Regions from separate parts of the Homo sapiens genome. Here all the other regions are linked to region 2. The links are contacts of gene promoters, found by promoter capture Hi-C in human tissues and cell types (Jung and others, 2019). All regions are on one chromosome and are shown on one strand. The core of a region is centred on a gene start or on the middle of the fragment in contact, and the rest is flanking DNA. Distances in the headings are between cores, read along the strand shown.

Region 1 (4,831 bases), core at 1,874-4,373, 460 kb after region 2:
GGAGTCTTCTTTATAAGTCCCTCAAGCAAGATCTTGGCAGCACTGAAGCTAGAGAAGGCCCCCAAAGTCCTCTAAATCAAGTTAATGTGGAAAAAACTTACTGTCTGGCATACTCACTTATGTAAAAATCCAATATTTACTTCTCTAGGCATATATGTTTTTGTATTTATAATGCATATATTTTGGAAAGCCAAAAATATTTACATTTGATGCTAGGGTTATTACTACATTGATATATTCTCTTCCCCACCTGGGAAAATGCGTCAGATGATGCAGCCTGTCTTTCAGAAGATAAGAAGAGCTCTGTTGTCCTATGCATTGTGGAAAGATAATTGCTTAAAACATTTTTATTTCACACCTGTTCCAAACTGCCAGCCCCCACAAAAATAGACACTTTCTAAAATATATATTACCATTAAACATTAGTGTGTTAGTCTATTCTCACACTACCATAAAGACAAACCAGAGACTGGTAATCTATAAAGAAAAGAGGTTTAATTGACTCACAGTTCCACATGGCTGGAGAGGCCTCAGGAAACTTATAATCATAGTGAAAGGGGAAGCAGACATGTCTTACATGGTGGCAGGTGAGAGAGAGCAAGCAAGAACAAGGAAAACTGCCTTATAAAACCATCAGATCTCATGAGAACTCACTATCACAAGAACAGCATGAGGGAAACCACCCCCATGATCCAATCACCTCCCATCTGGTTCCTCCCTTGACATGTAGGGATTATGGGGATTACAATTCAAGATGAGATTTGGGTGGGGACACAGAGCCAAACCATATCAATTAGTGACAACTGAAAAATTTATAGCAAGAAGCCAGAGTCAGAGAAGGGCGGTTATATCAAAGGGCCAGTGAGACTAGGCTAATCTGTCCTCATGGGAAAATTAATTCTAAAACAGGTTCTATCCAATTTTGAGCAGTTATCTCAATGAGCTAAAAACTAGTTAGATGTTTGTTCTTCATTTCAAATCAGGTTTATCCTCACTGAAGGAGAGAAATTATAGAGGGATTTACAGTAATTATTTAGAGAAAGTGTCTTTGATTAAAATTTGTCATTTTCTTTGTGGTGCCTCTCAGCCTGGTTTCCTCTCATTTTGTACACACTACTGCCATCTACTGAAGAGAATTTTAAGGCGTTCATCGGTTTTCCATTTCTCCAGTTGTATAAACTTTGACTTTGGAAAATGCAAAACTAAGTGATTTTGTTTCTTTCCTGGCCCTTCAAAAATTAGTATTCTCTGTTCTTTATGATTTTGCTGTAATTACTGTTTGAATATTTTTATTCAGAATATGCTTAAAAACTCAAAGACAAGGATTTGTTATATATAATCCCACTTTTAAACCAACACAGAAAAAACATGCACAGAAGTATTTTGTTGTTGTCTGTTTCTTTGAAAATAATTGAAATTACTGACGTATGATAGGAAGAATATAGAACTTAGAACTAAGGCCTAGTTGGTACCTTTTGCTGTCAATCAACAGGCTTGGACAAGACATAACCTCTCTGAACCTCTTCTGAAATTGTACTAATAATCTCAACATGAGAAGGTGCCTTGCACAGTGTGCCTGGTGTAGAATAGGCATGCAGTAAATATTTGTTGGGTTTTTTTTTCTTTTTAAAGATTAGTGAGTAATATCATGAGGGCTAAAGGAGGATAAACAAAAACAAATGAGGAAAAATTAATTTTGCCAATCAGCTAGAGATTTTATTGAAGTTCTGATAGTGTGATTGGAGCAGGTGTATTTAGCAAAACCTGTGTATAAGGGACAGAACATGGTACAAGGTCCAAATACAATCTGGAAATTTTCTTTAAAAAGAACAAAAAGAGGGGCTGGGAACAGTGGCTCATACCTGTAATCTCAGTACTTTGGGAGGCTGAGGCTGGAGGATCACTGGAGGCCAGGAAGTTGAAGCTGCAGTGAGCTATGATGGAGTCACTGCATTCTAGTCTGGGCTACAGAGAGAGACCCCATCTCTTGAAAAACAAACAAACAAACAAACAAACAAACAAAGTAAGGCATGTCAAAATGGAATTTTTCAATGAGTATGGAGTTAGTTGAGTCTTTTGAGAAAGTTGGCATCAAATTTTAAATCCCTGACAACTTTGAATATTAAAAAAAAACTTTAGAAAAATATTAAAACATTTGGTTTTTTCCTTAATTACCCATAGAAACACTTTATACTGTATTTTCAAACAAAAGAAAAATATAAGTCCCATAGTATATTATAGTAATTAGCCAATGATAAAATAAAATTGTTTTAAGCTAAGTTTTTTTGTTGTGTATATATATATATATATATATATATATATATTTATTTATTTATTTATTTGTGGAAAAAAGTATAAAAATATTTTAAAAATGTGTGAACTAACTCCCCATTCACACACACATATACAGCTAGCTTCACCACAAAAGCTTCTGCTACCATTCTGTTATCTTTCCATCCAGTTTTGTTCATTACATAGTAAAATGAAAATGATTGGGCCAAATTAAAAGCAGGAACACAAACTTCCTTAGAAGAAATGTTCTCTTGGAAATGTGATATGCTGCCTTTTCAAAACTCTTTCCAAAGCATAGCATGGGACAGGAAATTACTGAAGTACGTGCAGCTCTGAGCTGTCCATTGGTGAGCTTCCTATATATGATTTCAATGCTCCGGCCCTTTGTTCCTGGAGCAGGAGATGAGAGCACTCACTAAAACATCCTGAGTTAGGCACAGGCTCCTCCCAGGCGTCTGGATGTGGGCATCTTCCTGATGATGGTTGACTTGGGCTCTCCCACAGGTCACTGGCAAATGATCAATACAGGGAGTTTGTACTGAGTGGTAGATCCCACATCCACCGGGTTGATCCTTGAGAATAATTGTGATATTCTCAAATTTCAGCCAAATCTTCTAGCAACTGAACAGAGCTCATTCTCCCACTTCAAAAGTATTTTTGTTCAAGTGCCACCTCCTTAGAGAAGCCTCTGCACGTGACCCTGTCGAAAGAAGCATCCCGGCTGCTTTCTATTCCATTAGTTCCTTTATTTTTTTAAATAAGTAAGTGCAATCATGGGCACTTGCTTAATAATTATTGAATAAGTGTGTGACTACATGGGTGAATGAAAATGGAACCAAGATGTGGTGATAGTATGTCTTTTCATCCCAGGGGAGAAATAACTCTGTGTGCATACTGCTTCCTCGGCAGGTGAGGGACTCTGCCCAGTCCTTCTTGACAGTGCACGTGCCTCTATATGTGTCCTACATCTATGTGACAGCCCCCAGGGGCTGGGCCTCCTTGGAGCACCACACCGAGATGGAGTTTTCTTTCTTCTATGACACTGTTCTCTGGAGAACAGGTATGCCCACTGACGCCTTAACTATCCCTTTAGTTAGGGCTTCACTCAAGCAAGATTAAAAGAAGAGTAGTGACTTTTAACAGTAGCTGCATTTCTCATCCTGTTATCCCGAAGACAAAGTGGGGCCACCTCAAAGTGCAGATCTGTGGTTCCTGAAAAGAATGATGTCCTTCTGTCCTGATGCTGGAAGGTCTCAGCCCAGATAGCTAAGGTCCCAGCGTAGAGGATGGCAAGTGACAAATGAGTCCTCTACTGCCCGTTAGGGATTCAGATGGGTGTGTGTTCTTTTGGAATATAACCCAAATGATTTTCATTTTCTCCTAGTGAAAAATTGTGTGGTTCTTGTTTTTACAGAGCAAAAGGATCTTCAAATCAGATGCAAGGAAATGGAAAAATGTGTCAAGAGCACTTGAAATATTTATGTCAAGTAGCCCACTTTATTCATTTGGCAAAGAGTCTGCTCTTTAATTGCATCCTCCAAAGAAGGGATTTTAACCTTCCGAAGTCAAGGGCTGTGATACTGAATGTTTAAAATGACCTTTCCCTCAGGCTCATCCCCATTACTGTCCTCTTTGGGAGGAGCCTCCAAGAACTAAGTGGGAGGCAGCCCTTCAGCTGGGAGCCCACACCTCACCCCCACTCAGTTTCCACACCTCACCCCCACTCAGTTTCCACACCTACCTCCTCCTACTGCTTCCACATAGATGCTCCTTAAAACTCCCCAATTTTCTCCTCCGTTCTCTCCAATCGTTCTTGGTTATTTTTGTTTTTCTTGTTTTTTTTTTTTTCCTCATTTTTAGTGTCCTGTACTTCACACACTACCCCTAACCTATTTCCCCAAACCCATTTCCCCTAAATTCTGCTGCTCCCATCCTCCCTGTTTTCCTCTTCAGGGGTGAGGTGCTTTATCTGGGGCAAACATACTAAAAAAAATACAAGAGTTTTCTTTTGAGAAAGCTTCATCTCTACTAATTGAAATTACAGTCATCATTCATATCTATTAGTGTTTGGTTCCAGGACCTCCCACAGACACCAAGATCTGAGGATGCTCAAGTCCCTCATATAAAATGGTGTAGTATTTACATATAACCTATACATATACTCCCTTATGCTTTAAATCATCTCTAGATTATTTATAAACCTAATACAATGCATATGCTATATAAATAGTTGTTATGCTATATTGTTTAGGAAATAATGACAAAAAAATCTATATGTTTAGTGCAGATGCATTTTTATTCTTATATTTTCTATTTGAGGTTGGGTGAATCCACAGATGCAGAATCCATGATGTAGAACCTACAGATACAAAGGGCTGGCAGTGTAGTCCTTTCTTCTGTGAAATGTCTTAGGCTCAAATCATTTTTGGCTTTATATTTCTCATGGGAAAATAACTTCAGGCAGCTTTCCCACTCTGGGTCAGATAATTCCTTGAGCTCTTGTTTTTGTTTTGTTTTGTTCAAGTTCATGTTTCTAATC
Region 2 (4,164 bases), core at 113-2,612:
AGAGGTTCTCCTTTGTTCTGGCTGAATAGTAACACTGACAGGGACCTGCCAGTTTCAAGTTATTCCAGTTATTCGGAAAAGTGAATTGTTCCAAGTGGCGTCAGTGCACGTTAGAACGTGGGCCCGCGTCATGGTGTTCGTGAAGACTGGAAACAAGTGGGACCCCCGCCAGCACAGCTCATGCAACTGCTTCCCCTCCAACAGTTTCGCCCATCCCGACTCAATTGAGGGACCCGAGACGTTTCTTCTCTGGGCCAATCAGAACCCAGTCAGCATCTCTCTGATGCAACTGTTCCCTTATAAAACGATTAAACGTGGACCAGCTATTTTTATTCGGTCCTATAAAAATAGCTGCCGTCAGTCAGTCCTGGCGGGGAATCAAGGCCTCTGCTCTTCAAGTGCGCGCCCCAGTCGGCCGTGTCCTGATGTTACTTTCCCAGCCATTGGCATCTGGGGGCGCAGCTGGACCCACAGCTCCCAGACCGCGTTGTGTTCCACTGACAGAGTCTCCTAGGGAAAGGGAAAGGTGCATTTGCTCTCAGGCTCCGCCTAGGACACACACACCAAGATCTTCCCGGGCTGCTGGTAAAAGCCAGGATGCAACAGCCTGAGGGTCCCAGAGCGAGGAAGAAGGATCAATCAGGTCCCCCGGACGCACTTAGTTCAGCAGGAGTGGCGGGCTGTGGGGGTGGGAGGTAGCCCCAGGGCCTTTGATGTGGGCACACGCTCCCCCAGCCCGCCGAATCGGTTCCTCCCCTAACAAGGGATGTGGACACGGTTCATCTGCCTTCCGGTGTGCCTGAGCAAGAACTGTGCAACCTATCTCCACCCCCTCCGTCCCCGGTATGAGCACTTTTGATTCCTCCCCAGACAAAGCCAATCTGAACTCCAGCAGAATGAATAAAGGGATCAGGTTGCTCTCCCGGCCTCCCCTCACCTCCCTCCTCGCTTCTCCCTTTCCCCACGTGACTCTCTGGAATTTCGCCAAAGCTCCGAGTCTCTGGGTCCATTTTCACACCGAGCAAAGCAGAGAGGAAGGAGGCAAGGGAGACTAGAGGAAGGCTGAACGTGTGTCCTTTAAACACGGGGTCCAGACCCGGCGTATTTTGGGCGTTTCCAGGCTCTCTCGCCAGAGTGGCCTTGAGTTTGGGGGTCTTTTCCAGCCTCGCTAGCTTTTTCCTCCGTGCAATTAAAATTATGGCTCTTCTTCCACTCCCGTAATCATTGCACCTCTACCCTGCAGACCTCCTCCGGGGTGTTCAGCGCGGAGGTGGGTGTTGGTGTGCAGCAAGCCGCGTCCCCGCAGCCCTCCTCACCCAGGCGAGGGGCGGGGACGAGAAAGTAGCAGCAGCGCCCCCCAGTCTTTCCTCTGAAGCTTCCGAACAGTCTGCTTCAGGGAGCGCAGCCTGAGGCGGTGTGGTGCGGTGCGGCTGCAGGGCGGGCGAGTCCCCGGAGCTGCCCTCAGCGCTGCACAGTTTCCAGCGAGCGGACCCCGGCAGATGAGGTCTGCCGAGCCGGGTGGCTCGACCAAGGAGTGGGTGTGGGTGGGTCTTTCGGGGCTCCCGGCGACCCGCGGTGCCGACGCAACGCCGACGTATGGTGCCAAGCGAACTTTAAAAAGCTGCTTCGGACAAACCAGAGCCAGGATTTCCACTGTCGGGGACCCGGGATCGGAAGGGTCTAGCCCGAGGGAAATGCTGGAAGATCCCATCGGCCAGTGACCAGCAACTTTCCGGCGAGATTTTGACGCGGAGAACTGTGCTCTGCCTCCTCTTATTCTCCCAAAGCTCACGTTGGCGTCCTGCCTTGCGGGGGAACTCGGCGCGCTCTCTGCCTGAGCAGCGAGTGAATTGAACCCCAGCCCGCTCCGGCGCCTCCGGGCTGATGAGTGTCGCTCTCCGCCCGTCCATCTCTTTTTCCCGGAGGTAAAGGCCCGCGGTCCCCCACCTTCAGTGCGCCCGGGTTCCAAGCGCCGGAGCCAGCGTTTTGGCGGAGCCGCTTCTTGGATGCTGAAGGCTGGGCTCCTCCATCGTGGGTGCCGAGGCGGCGATGGGTGTCCTCAAAGTGTGGCTCGGGCTGGCCCTAGCGTTGGCGGAATTTGCAGTATTGCCTCATCATTCCGAAGGTGAGAGAGCGGTGCCGCGTGTGTGTGTGTGTGTGCGTGTGCGTGTGTGTGTGTATGTGTGAGTGATCGTGCAGTTTAAAAATCTCAGCAGGTTTTATGGTATTTCGGTGAGGTGGAAGTTTTTCTGGGAAGGGTGAGGTGGAAGTGAAACTGGAATAGGCTTTTTCTGATAAGATTCCTACTCCTGATTGTTTTGTATTCGGATTACACCCCCGAAACGGCCTCCCTCTCTGCCCTAAGTGCTTTTGGGTGGGTGGGTGGCCGATGGAGGTGACATCTCTGAAACTGATCCTTTTTCTTTCCACCACCTACCTTTCCCCGAAGGGAAAGCAACTGCATGGAGCACAGGTGAGGAGCGAACAATTGCTCTTACCTGTTTAAAAATACTTCTGTTCCTAAGAAACATACAGTCTTTCATCTTAAAGCCCCATCGCTCTCCCGCCCTCCTTACCTCAGTTAGTCTCCCCCTAAAGTCCAGTTAGGATTTTATAACTAACTGGTTGGAGCGTGTTCTGGTCGTGGGCAGTTCAGTTGCACTGAAAGAAATCTCTCCAGTACGGAGAAGCACGAACCAGCCTGCTTCCCAGAACAAAAGTGGTTAATAAGAGTTTAGGTTCATTCTTTTACTTCACCCTCCGCCTCCTGGTTTTCCTCCGAGGCTCCAAGCTACCTGTAAAACCCCGGAGCCGCAGGAGAGAAAAGGAAGCCGTGAGACTAGTTGTCGCCATGATATCAAATGCAATCCGGGCTCAGCCAAATAAATGAGTCAATAAGTAAATCAAGAGTTTGGGGTCATGGGATGCCGGGCCTGGGGACGCGAGGCGCTGTGAGCTCCCTCCTGCTCCGAGGAGCCAGGGAAGTCGCCCCGCCAGTGCTTAGGGAGGGGGAAGGGAGCCGGCGGGCTGGGAGGAAGACGGCTTAATCCACAGCGCCTGGCTCTCGGCTTCCCCTCCCGGCTCCATTCATTATTCATCCAGCTGCGGGAAGAAGAGTTCACCTGCCCAGCCGCAAACCAGAGCCGCGGCTGGGCGGCGGCGGCGGGCGCAGGGCGGGCCGCCTTCTCCGCCCTGGTGCCTAGGAAGGGGCGCGGGGCGGCTCCCGGGAGTCGAGCTCTGGCGCAGGACTGGGGGCTGCGGGAGGCCCGGGGAGGACAAAGCTCTGCCTCGGGTCGACCTCCAGTCACTGGAGCAGCTGCCTTTTCTTTGCTGGCTTCCCAAGAGAAAGGCCTTGGGAATCCACGCACAAGGGTGGGGGACTTTCCCGTGGGTCCAGGTGCTGCCTTCTGCACTCTTCCGGGATGTGTGTCAAGTGTGTATAATCTCCGCGAAAGGCACATCTGGGGCCTGTGCAGCCTTCTCCCAACAGTGCAAGTCCTGTAGAAATATAACTTTATTGTTTATGTGCGTGTGGGCGCGTACTTTGGAAAAAAAAAAAAAAAGCTTGTAGGGCTTGATTATAACAATAAACCAGATGAGAGAGTCACCCCAGGCCACCCAAACCTGAACTTGGTACTTAGAAAAATTAATTTCACTTGGTGGCAGTTTTTAAAATTTAGAGTCCTATCCCAGCAACGCAGGAAACGTGCTATCACTCCCGGATAGCTCACCAGGGGGCAGTTGGAATGGTGCAGCTTGTCGGAACCAAAACTCTGAAATCAACAAAAGGCATTATTATTAAGAGCCTGCAGGGTGCGCTCTTTGGCAGATTGCTTGATCCAGTGGGCCAAGTTTAAGAAGTGCGGAATCTAGACTGGGAGGTGGGGATGGGGGGATGTGAAGCACAGAAAGCTGGGGGTAGAGACGGGGGGCGGGGGCGGGGGCGGAGAGAGGGTGTGGATATTACTCCAAAGAGTCTTTGGAAACTTTGCTTCTTATTGTTTGACTTTACTGTCAGAGCATTCTATAGCTGTTTCACAAATTGGATTGATAAATTGATAGATGTCTGAGTTTCCACCCACGTCATAATGGTGCTTATCTAATAATGAATGAATGAATGAATGAACATGGCCATTTATTGAGCAGGTATTGTTTGCCTGGCTC
Region 3 (4,565 bases), core at 1,110-3,609, 330 kb after region 2:
CTTACAACTTACTGGTTTAGATGTTTCTCAGTCCTTACACTCAGAAACTTTGTTTCGTTCTTTTTGTTTGAGCTAATAAAGTTACTCCAGTGAAAGATCAAAGGTAGATATTGGCAAGTCTTCCTAATCTGACATGGTGAGTTCCCATGGTTCCCCAAGTGTGGCTTGTGTGTTTTTCCACAATCAAGTGAGTAAATAAGGAGAACATTTAATTTTATTTATTATATGAGAAACTTTTATCATTTTAAGTCTTTAAAATGGAATTTTAGAAAATCATTTTAACTTATTTTCATTCCTTTAAATTTCTGTGACATTGCAATATGGTCTTGAGCCTCTCTGAAATTTTCTCATGCAAGTTAATTTCGTCTTTTCCATTTGTGAATTTTGACATCATCTTTGACTTTTCCTCTTTCAGAGTAGGAGGGGTCACTCTTTCCCATGTATAGAATCACAGCTGTAGAATTCTCACTTGAGAATTCTAAAGACTAACTATCATCTAATTTCCCACTATGTAACTATTATAGTGATGTATTAGACATTCCTTTAATAGAGATTGTAATTTCCAGGAGGCCAGGAGGGTGCTTGGGTAGTTTTAAAAGAAAGCCATTTGGATTAAAGAAAGCAGTGTGTTGAGAAAAGTCCTAGATGGTTCCACTTCAAATGATATTTTTTTAAAAACTGAAATAATATTTTCTTTGGCTTCTGGCCTCAATTTTTTTGGGTGAGTTTTTTTTCTGTTGTGGTTCATTAGCTTTTATCTTTATGAAATAACATTTTATTTGCTTACTCAACTTGGTGGGAGGTAACCTGACAATCCTAAGAAAAAGATATTAAATTTTACTATAATATATTAGCCTTGTCACATGAATTAGCCAGGTGGTTGCCTTACTCACCTAGACCATAATCTTGGCACACTTTATAACCTGAGTTGGGGTGGGGCTCTGTCAAGATTTGGATGAGAAAACTGAAGAAAATTACTGGGAGGGACTAGAAACAGCATGAGCTCAGGATGCAAAAGTAGCTTCCTCAGAGTCAGTATACCACAACATGGCCTGGAGTGAAGTGTGTCCTCCCAAAGGCAAGTCCAAAAATTTCATACCTCTTATTAGTCTCTTTTGGGATAAATTTAAGTCAGGATAGCAGAGAAATTAGAGATTTAGAAGCTAGCAGCTCTCACCAGTTGTCTCTCAAGTCTTGAAGTAGCTTGATAAACCTCTAGAACCCAGAGGTGTGAAGTAACCTTAGTTGTTGTGTTCCTGTGAGTGACCACACCTCTGACGAATGTGTTCACCATAGAACAGTTTGGTGCTTTGCTAGAACACTTAGAGTTTCTCAAAAAGTATAGGAATAACAATCAGGTATCTAGTCCACTGGATTGTCCTTTCTTTCCCTCTTAACTGACTCTTCTTCCCTTCAACTCCACAGGCCCCCTATGTGCTGAGAAATGAAGTTCTCCACATTAGCAGAGGAGAGAGGGCAACCATCACCACCCAGATGCTTGACATCCGAGATGATGACAACCCACAGGATGTGGTCATTGAAATAATCGATCCTCCACTTCATGGCCAATTGCTTCAGACACTTCAGTCCCCGGCAACCCCTATCTATCAATTCCAGCTGGATGAACTCTCTAGAGGCCTTCTCCACTATGCTCATGATGGTTCAGACAGCACATCCGATGTTGCAGTCTTGCAGGCCAATGATGGACACTCCTTCCATAATATACTGTTCCAAGTGAAGACCGTGCCTCAGGTAGGTGTCATTCCTAGAGTTACAGTTTCTTTGCACCTAGATGTGAACTTCTACGGTTGATATTATTTTATGATACTCACAAAGTTAAGATATGGGTAGTCATTCACTTATTCAAATATAACCTATTATATAGAGGGCACTATATATCTAGTTAGGAGCACCCTTGATCTGAAAGACCTGTCCCCATGTTCTCTACAAATTGGGACACTTTTGAACCTTTTTTGTTGAGGTACTGCCATAAGAACGTGTTATTATCCACTAATCCTTTTGTCTCCTGCCTGAGCATAACCATAAGAATCAAGATATTTCTGTTTTTATCTGCCCCTCAAAAACAGCTCATGAGGCCAGGTGTGGTGGCTCACGCCTCTAATCCCAGCACTTTGGGAGGCTGAGGTGGGTGGATCACGAGGTCAGGAGATCAAGACCATCCTGGCTAACACGGTGAAACCCCGTCTCTACTGAAAATACAAAAAATTCGCTGGGCGTGGTGGCGGGTGCCTGTAGTCCTAGCTACTCGGGAGGCTGAGGCAGGAGAATGGCGTGAACCCAGGAGGCAGAGCTTGCAGTGAGCCGAGATCGCGCCACTGCACTCCAGCCTGGGTGACAGAGAGAGACTCCGTCTCAAAAACCAAAAAAAAAAAAAAACAAAAAAAACCCAGCTCATCAAATGTGAAGTTCATAGTCAGATAATCTGAATGACTCAAAAACGTTGAGTTCAGCCATTCTGTTAGCTCAACTAAAGTAGGATGAGCAAACTCTTTTGGTAATCCTAGGGATCTTTGCCCTAGGGAGTAGGAGCCAATAAAGAGCATTGGGCCAGGTGCAGTGGCTCATGCCTGTAATCTCAGCACTTTGGGAGGTTGAGGTAAGGGGATCACTTGAGCTCAGGAGTTTGAGACCAGCGTGAGCAACGTGGAGAAATCTTGTCTCTACTAAAGTTTTTTTTTTTTTTTTAAATTAGCTGGGTGCAATGGCATGCACCTATAGTCTCCACTACTCAGAAGGCTGAGGTGGGAGGATCACTTTAACCCAGAAGTTCCAGGTTGCAGTGAGCCATGATCACACTACTGTACTCCAGCGTGGATGACAGAGCAAGGCCCTATCTCTAAATAAATAAATAAATAGCATTTTTGCTCAGCCTGAGTCATTGACATGCCACCTTTTTATGTTTTCGCCATATCCACAAGCACCTGTACTATTATTTACTTAATATTTTTCTTTGTATCAACTTACTTTTTATTGTAGCCTCATCTTAATAAATAATACTTATGAAATCATGGGCTTAATGTAGAATTATACTTTTTTTCTAAAATATGAAAAATAATACATAACCATTCTACAACATTTTGTCCATATGCTACTGAAAATGTTCTTGGACACTGCAAATGAGATGGCTCTCACACTTTAGGAAATACTAGGCTGAGCCATTGCTAGACCAAAGGGACACGAAAAACATTTTCAAAACTAGTTGATGTTTCACTGGATGCCCTTTACTCAGTTGCATCAAGAATGGCTCTTTCTCATGGTAGTAGATTGGGAAACATAAATCTTAAACAACCTTTTATTTCAAATATCACTGCCTACTGAGGTGTCATTAATGACTAGCTAGAGAGACTGGTTTGTTGAGGACAGTTTAAAACCACTTGTCACTTTCTCATCAGTGATCACTCAAAATTTGCGATTGATCCGATTGAGCCTCATGAAGGTGAACAGCTGAATCTAATATGATCTGCTAGGTAATTTCTCAGTTTCCTGTCTCGTTATTTTCAGCTGCTGAAAGCAGTGAAGGTGGCATAGGAGAGATGGGAGTGAGTGAAAGCTGATGATGAGATGGAGTTGGCAGATAGCCACCTTGCAACTCATCCTAATTATCACTCTTGCGATGGCCCTGGGAGATGAGGTTTAGTTCTGGACAGATGAAGTCTAGACAGAGAGAAGTTTTTGTTTCTTCGTTCTTGGTTTCTTTCTAAAGGTTGTTAGAGGATTTCAGTGCCACCCTAGCAGCTGCCTTTCCTATTGTGGCTTCCATCTCCACGTTTGGAGCTCAGTTCAGTGTGTTGCACAACCATTTTGTGTGGAATGGCCCAAGATGGAAGGACATTTCTAGGGTTTTAGCTGCTTTGACTACCAGAACAAAACCAAGAAAAATGGAAATTTAATTCATAAATAAAGCACAAGACACAGAGTTTTGGGATCCTTGTGACTTGTGAGTCATGTAGGTATTTTCTATGTCTGTCTGTGATACCTGAAAAGTGAATTTAAGTTGTGCTCTGGGCCCCTTTTCATCCCTCTCTCCTGTATTGCTGTGATTACCTGCCCATGGATTGGAATAATGAAACCCATGACCAGAGCCTCAGCATTCATCAGGATGTACTAATAATACATCTGACTGCAATACTGGCAACATTATACAAATGTGTACTATTTTTCCTCTTAGGAATTCAAAATATTTTTTCCTTATATCTCTTTTACTGATCTTTACAATGTCTTGGGGAAGAAGGTTAGAGTAGAGGCTATGGGACCTTAATTTTTCTAATGGAGATTCTATTATGGGTGGAAGTTTTTTGTTTTGTTTTTGATGTTAGGCACTAAAGCTTGATGGGAATTATTCCATTTGATCTTCATGATCACTCTGTGATGTTTGTACAGTTATTATCCATAATTTTCCAAAAGAGGAAACTGAAGCACAAAGAGGTTCAAAAACATTCATTTTCATAAAGATACTTAGTGCTGGAGCTATGATTTCATCTCAAGTGTGTCTGCCTCCTACATTTAACCATGAGACTCTTTTCATTCCAGCTAGTGTTTTTCAG
Region 4 (4,544 bases), core at 377-2,876, 310 kb after region 2:
AAACCCACTCTGGTGGATGCATGGAAAATGGATTGCAAGGGGGTCAGAGCGGAGATGGGGAAACCAATTAGGAGGCTGTGATAGTAGTTCAGCAGGGGATGATGATGGCTTAGAAATATTGGCATTTGTGGATATGGAAAAAAGCAAAAAGTTCTGAGAGTTATATCGGAGAGTTTGAATAAATAGGATCCAGTGAGTAACTGGATTAGGAGTCAGGGAAAGAGAGGTGTCAAGATAGACTTGGAGGTTTCTGGCATGAACAACTGTGTAGATGGAGAAATGCCAGTTGTTAAATAAGGGAAGATGGAAGCATGACCAGATTGGGGGATCATCCCTGAATGTCAGAGTTATGTGGCTGGGTTCTAAGAGTTGTAACTAGGCAAATCAATAAACCAGTTCACCTTCAAGTCCTTTGTATCTTAAAGTATGGGATTTCCCAAGCTCCCCAATAAAGTTGGTGCCTAATTTTAATGTTGCCATCACACAAAAACCTGAATCTACATTATGAACTTAAGGGGGCTTGATTCCTGAAGAAGTAAGGTTTAAGTTCTGAACTATAATTCCAGGGATCTTAGAGTAAGCATAAATTCTGTTGCTGAATCACAGAGCAATTTGGATATGGGATTTCCATTATTGGGTTTGCACTTTATATTCTTTGTAAAATAAGATTACCCTTTTCTATTTCGGAAACTAATATTTTCTGTTTTTGTTGATCACAGGGGAGGGCTATGAGCCATAATGAAATGTAGAGCAGGTTGGAACAAGGCTTTGTTCCTATGCAACATCTGTCTAGGTTTGATCAGTGCTTCAGTATTTGCAATTGTAATCATCTGGTCATTTTCTTTTCCTGTCTGCTCAGCATGCAACACACACTGTGGAAGCTGTGATTCACAGGCCAGCTGTACCTCCTGCCGAGATCCAAACAAGGTTCTGCTCTTTGGGGAATGTCAATACGAGAGCTGCGCCCCACAGTACTATCTTGACTTCTCCACCAACACGTGCAAAGGTAAAGCTCTTCCTGAATTGTGTAAAGATTCTTTTACACAGTGATACCACTTTACTACTGATGTCTAGTTTTCCATATTGGGAAAACACCAGTCATCATATATTTTGACTGTCTCTGATGATAGCAACAATTGTGTGTGTATGTATATATTCATTAATTCACTCCTTTATTTACTTATTAAGCATATATTTTTGAGCACCTATTTGTGTCAGATGTTGTGCCACGTCTTGATAACAAGACCAGAGGTGGCAAATTGTAAATCCTCAGGTTATATATGGCCCATAGACATGTTTTCTTTGTCTACTTAATGTTTCAATGCTTTAAAATCTTTAATTATTTGCCTTTTAAAAATCAGAAGATTTCACATACAAAAATTGAGATTTTCAAGTGTTGTTGGTTTTTTCTTAACCAGAAGCTCTGGTAATGTTGGATATGTATCCTGACAGTGAAGCTCTAGTAATGTTGGATATGTATCCTGACAGTGCAACCGTAGGTTGAAACGGTGTAGCTGTCGTCCCTGCTGGATGGAACAGGATCTCTTCAGTTCAGCAGTCCCCACCATTCCCTTTCTATCACACAAGGCCTATTCTGAAGATACATTACTTTCCTGGGCTGTAGGTGTTTGCATTTACAACTTGAGATTGCTACCTCCAAGCTTGATAAGGTCAGGAGTCGTGTCTGATGTGTTCATCTCTGCTTAACATACTTAAATGAGTGAAGACGTAGTCCCTGTCTTCAAGGAAATTTATAAGGAGATAATGTCAAATGCCAAGTGCCTTTTTCTTTGCTCTCCAGTAGTTGGAATTCTCGGGGCTTACACACTTTGAATGGTAGTGCTCAGCAACAGGAAAGCAAAGGTAAAGAACAGGTTTTACTTGCTCCTGTCCATTTCCTCATTCCTGACTCCTTCCACATTTCTCTCTATCCCTCTGATTCTGGCAGAGAAGCTAGAGCTTGGATATGGTGGTCAAACATCTGTCAAGTAAACTTAGGATGCTTTAAGGCTCTGCAAAATTGCACACTTTCCATTCCAAGAAATTCTACTTCGTTGTCAACTTAGGTGGTCTGCTGTGCTCGAGACCACAGAATTTTTTTTCTGTTTTTTTGTTTTTTTTTTTTTTTGCCTTCTAACCAGTAGCTGTCAGTTTGTGGTGAAAAACAAGATTATCACAAATCCACTCCATTATAAATGATTTCATAACTGTGCTGGCAGTTTTCAAGGCTCTGTTTTAGTCATTTTCCCTCAGGACTGATTCAGCTAAATAAAGGAATAGGATTAACTTTGTAAATCTTGGAAGCACGTGTACTGTCTTGCACATTTACCTGATTTCTTTGGGACTTAGAAATATTCTACCAAGGAAGAGAAAAGGTAACTAATGAGAGGTTTCTCCAGTTTCTTAGCAGGAATGGAAGGTGAGATCGAGGGTGGCCCTGAATGGAGATAGGTTCTCTAAGAGAAACAGTTCAGCAGCAAACATTTATTGAGTTGTTACTATATGCCAGGCACTGTGCTAAATTATTTAAATTCATTATTTCATTTTATTCTTCACATTTTATTCTTCTTAACATTATGAAATGGGTACTATTCTCACCCATGTTTTACAGGTGAGAAACCAGGATAATATAGATAAAAACATGATTGTAGGATAATATAGAGAAAAAGTAGCAAAGCCATGACTTGAATACAGACTTACCTTTCTTCAAAACCCATGCACTTAACTGTGCTATCCCATCCCATCTTCCATGCAGGTAGCACTTCCCTTACCAGCTACAACACTGGCTTTCAAACATGAGTTTTCTGACTGCGTCAGAATTGCCTGGGCCATTAAAAACAACAGCAACAGCAACAACTATAATATTCACAATAACAAGTACAGCAGCAACATGTTTTCCTGTGCCCCAACCCAACCCCTGAGACTCTGATTTGATAAATCTGATGCTGAGCCTAATCCATATTTTTTAACAACCCCCCTGGATTATTTGCATGCACATTCAAGGTTAGACCCCTCTAGAACATAAGCTCCTTGATGACAAGTTCTACACCTACCACCTTTATATTGCCCCCTCCTGCTGTTCAGTGACTATCCCATAGGTGCTTATGGAGCAAATTAACATGTAATTGAGTCCGTTCTAATGCCTAAATGAGACCTTCTATTGTTTTAGCAACCTCTTTCTTTCTGGACAGCACCTTTATGCCCCATATAATTCTGACATCATTGGTTCTTTCTGTCACTTTGGTCAATGCCTGGTTTTGAGAGATAGAAACCCATGCAGCTGGTGTTATTGGTGGCAGCAGATGCATTCTTAGTTGAGTGTCTGACATCTCTTTACCTATTGAGCATTGAGTATTTGGAAGAAGTCAGGGTTAGGTTTGTGGGGCAAGTTGGCCACTCCCTGCGGCAGGTTTTGCATGAAGACTTGATATGGCACAGGGATAAAGAACTAAGACCAGAGTGATCTGGTTTCTCAGCAGCCCTGCCAACAAGCAGGCTCAGCACAAGCATAGAGTGCTCCTTGTACATGTCCGTGTCTAACATAATTAGGGAACACTTAAACCTCAGAGAAGCATTCAGGCTACTACAAGTGGAAACCTCATTTGAGCCTACTTATCTGACATCTCTTACGTTGTCCTTATTTTACTCCTTGCAGCTGCAGACAGAGTCCTCATAAATGAACTGCTGGGTCTGAGGGTGGACAGAAAGGAAGATAATCTAATGCAGACTTTCTTTTTAGAGTGTGATTGGAGCTGCAGTGCATGCAGTGGGCCCCTGAAAACAGACTGCCTGCAGTGCATGGATGGCTATGTTCTCCAGGATGGGGCCTGCGTGGAGCAGTGCTTGTCATCATTTTACCAGGACTCGGGCCTCTGCAAGAGTAAGTGTGTAGAGGCCCTGCTCTGTGCTCAGCCATACCTTGGCCACCTCTGATTTGTACTGTTCTCAGAAGGAAACAGTGGCAAGTTTCCCCTTCTGGCTTTTTACCCCATTTCTGGTTTCTTTCCTAAGAGCTATCTTTGTTATCATGAAAATTTCCCCTTTTCATCTTCCATGCCTTAATAAGACATTTGCTAAAATTTGAGGGCAATATGGGAATCTTGGGCATATAGGACCACACAAACAGGTATGTGTTAGCTGTTACTTTCAGATTTTCTTAAAAATTGAACAGTCAGGTCCTCCAGGTGGGAAGGTGTTTGTACCCTGGGCATTTGGGCACATAGGAAGACCCGATTATTTCACTATCTGCCCCCTTCAACCCTCTGTATACCATATAGCTCACAATCATCTGTCTCTGGCCTAGTATCCCTTTTAGCCTCAACTGAACACTACAAAATTCTCAGACCCTGAAATTCCCATCAAAAGTGCACAGAGAGCATTCCTAGGAGTATTCCTGGGGGACTGAAAACTGACTTGATGAACCACGAAAGGTTGACATTTCAGCAAAACAGTACTGAGAGCCAAGGACTAATAATAATAATAATAATAATAATAATAATAATAATAATAGTTGCTTAGGCCAGGAATGGTGGCTCACGTCTGTA

What was found. Contacts are between HindIII fragments. The study calls those that stand out against the background at their distance.
Region 1: a fragment that was not itself captured here is called in contact with the fragment with the promoter of FRAS1 in region 2 in 1 of the 25 tissues and cell types used here (dorsolateral prefrontal cortex).
Region 3: a fragment that was not itself captured here is called in contact with the fragment with the promoter of FRAS1 in region 2 in 1 of the 25 tissues and cell types used here (mesendoderm cells).
Region 4: a fragment that was not itself captured here is called in contact with the fragment with the promoter of FRAS1 in region 2 in 1 of the 25 tissues and cell types used here (mesendoderm cells).

Annotation. Positions count from the first base shown.
Region 1 is chr4:78,516,130-78,520,960 of GRCh38, forward strand. It overlaps FRAS1 (Fraser extracellular matrix complex subunit 1), which reads left to right. Exons shown (of 74, transcript NM_025074.7): 67 at 3,202-3,352. Among named protein-coding and RNA genes, the nearest start is that of ANXA3, 33 kb to the right of the region's middle. The HindIII fragment of the contact is 4,460 bases long and covers 894-4,831 here.
Region 2 is chr4:78,055,961-78,060,124 of GRCh38, forward strand. It overlaps FRAS1 (Fraser extracellular matrix complex subunit 1), which reads left to right and starts at 1,363. Exons shown (of 74, transcript NM_025074.7): 1 at 1,363-2,125. The coding sequence starts at 2,050. RefSeq lists an enhancer at 1-920. The HindIII fragment of the contact is 7,312 bases long and covers 1-4,119 here.
Region 3 is chr4:78,385,950-78,390,514 of GRCh38, forward strand. FRAS1 (Fraser extracellular matrix complex subunit 1) reads left to right here. Exons shown (of 74, transcript NM_025074.7): 29 at 1,426-1,752. Among named protein-coding and RNA genes, the nearest start is that of SNORD161, 99 kb to the left of the region's middle. The HindIII fragment of the contact is 4,635 bases long and covers 43-4,565 here.
Region 4 is chr4:78,368,979-78,373,522 of GRCh38, forward strand. It overlaps FRAS1 (Fraser extracellular matrix complex subunit 1), which reads left to right. Exons shown (of 74, transcript NM_025074.7): 23 at 860-1,006; 24 at 3,740-3,880. Among named protein-coding and RNA genes, the nearest start is that of SNORD161, 82 kb to the left of the region's middle. The HindIII fragment of the contact is 6,572 bases long and covers 1-4,544 here.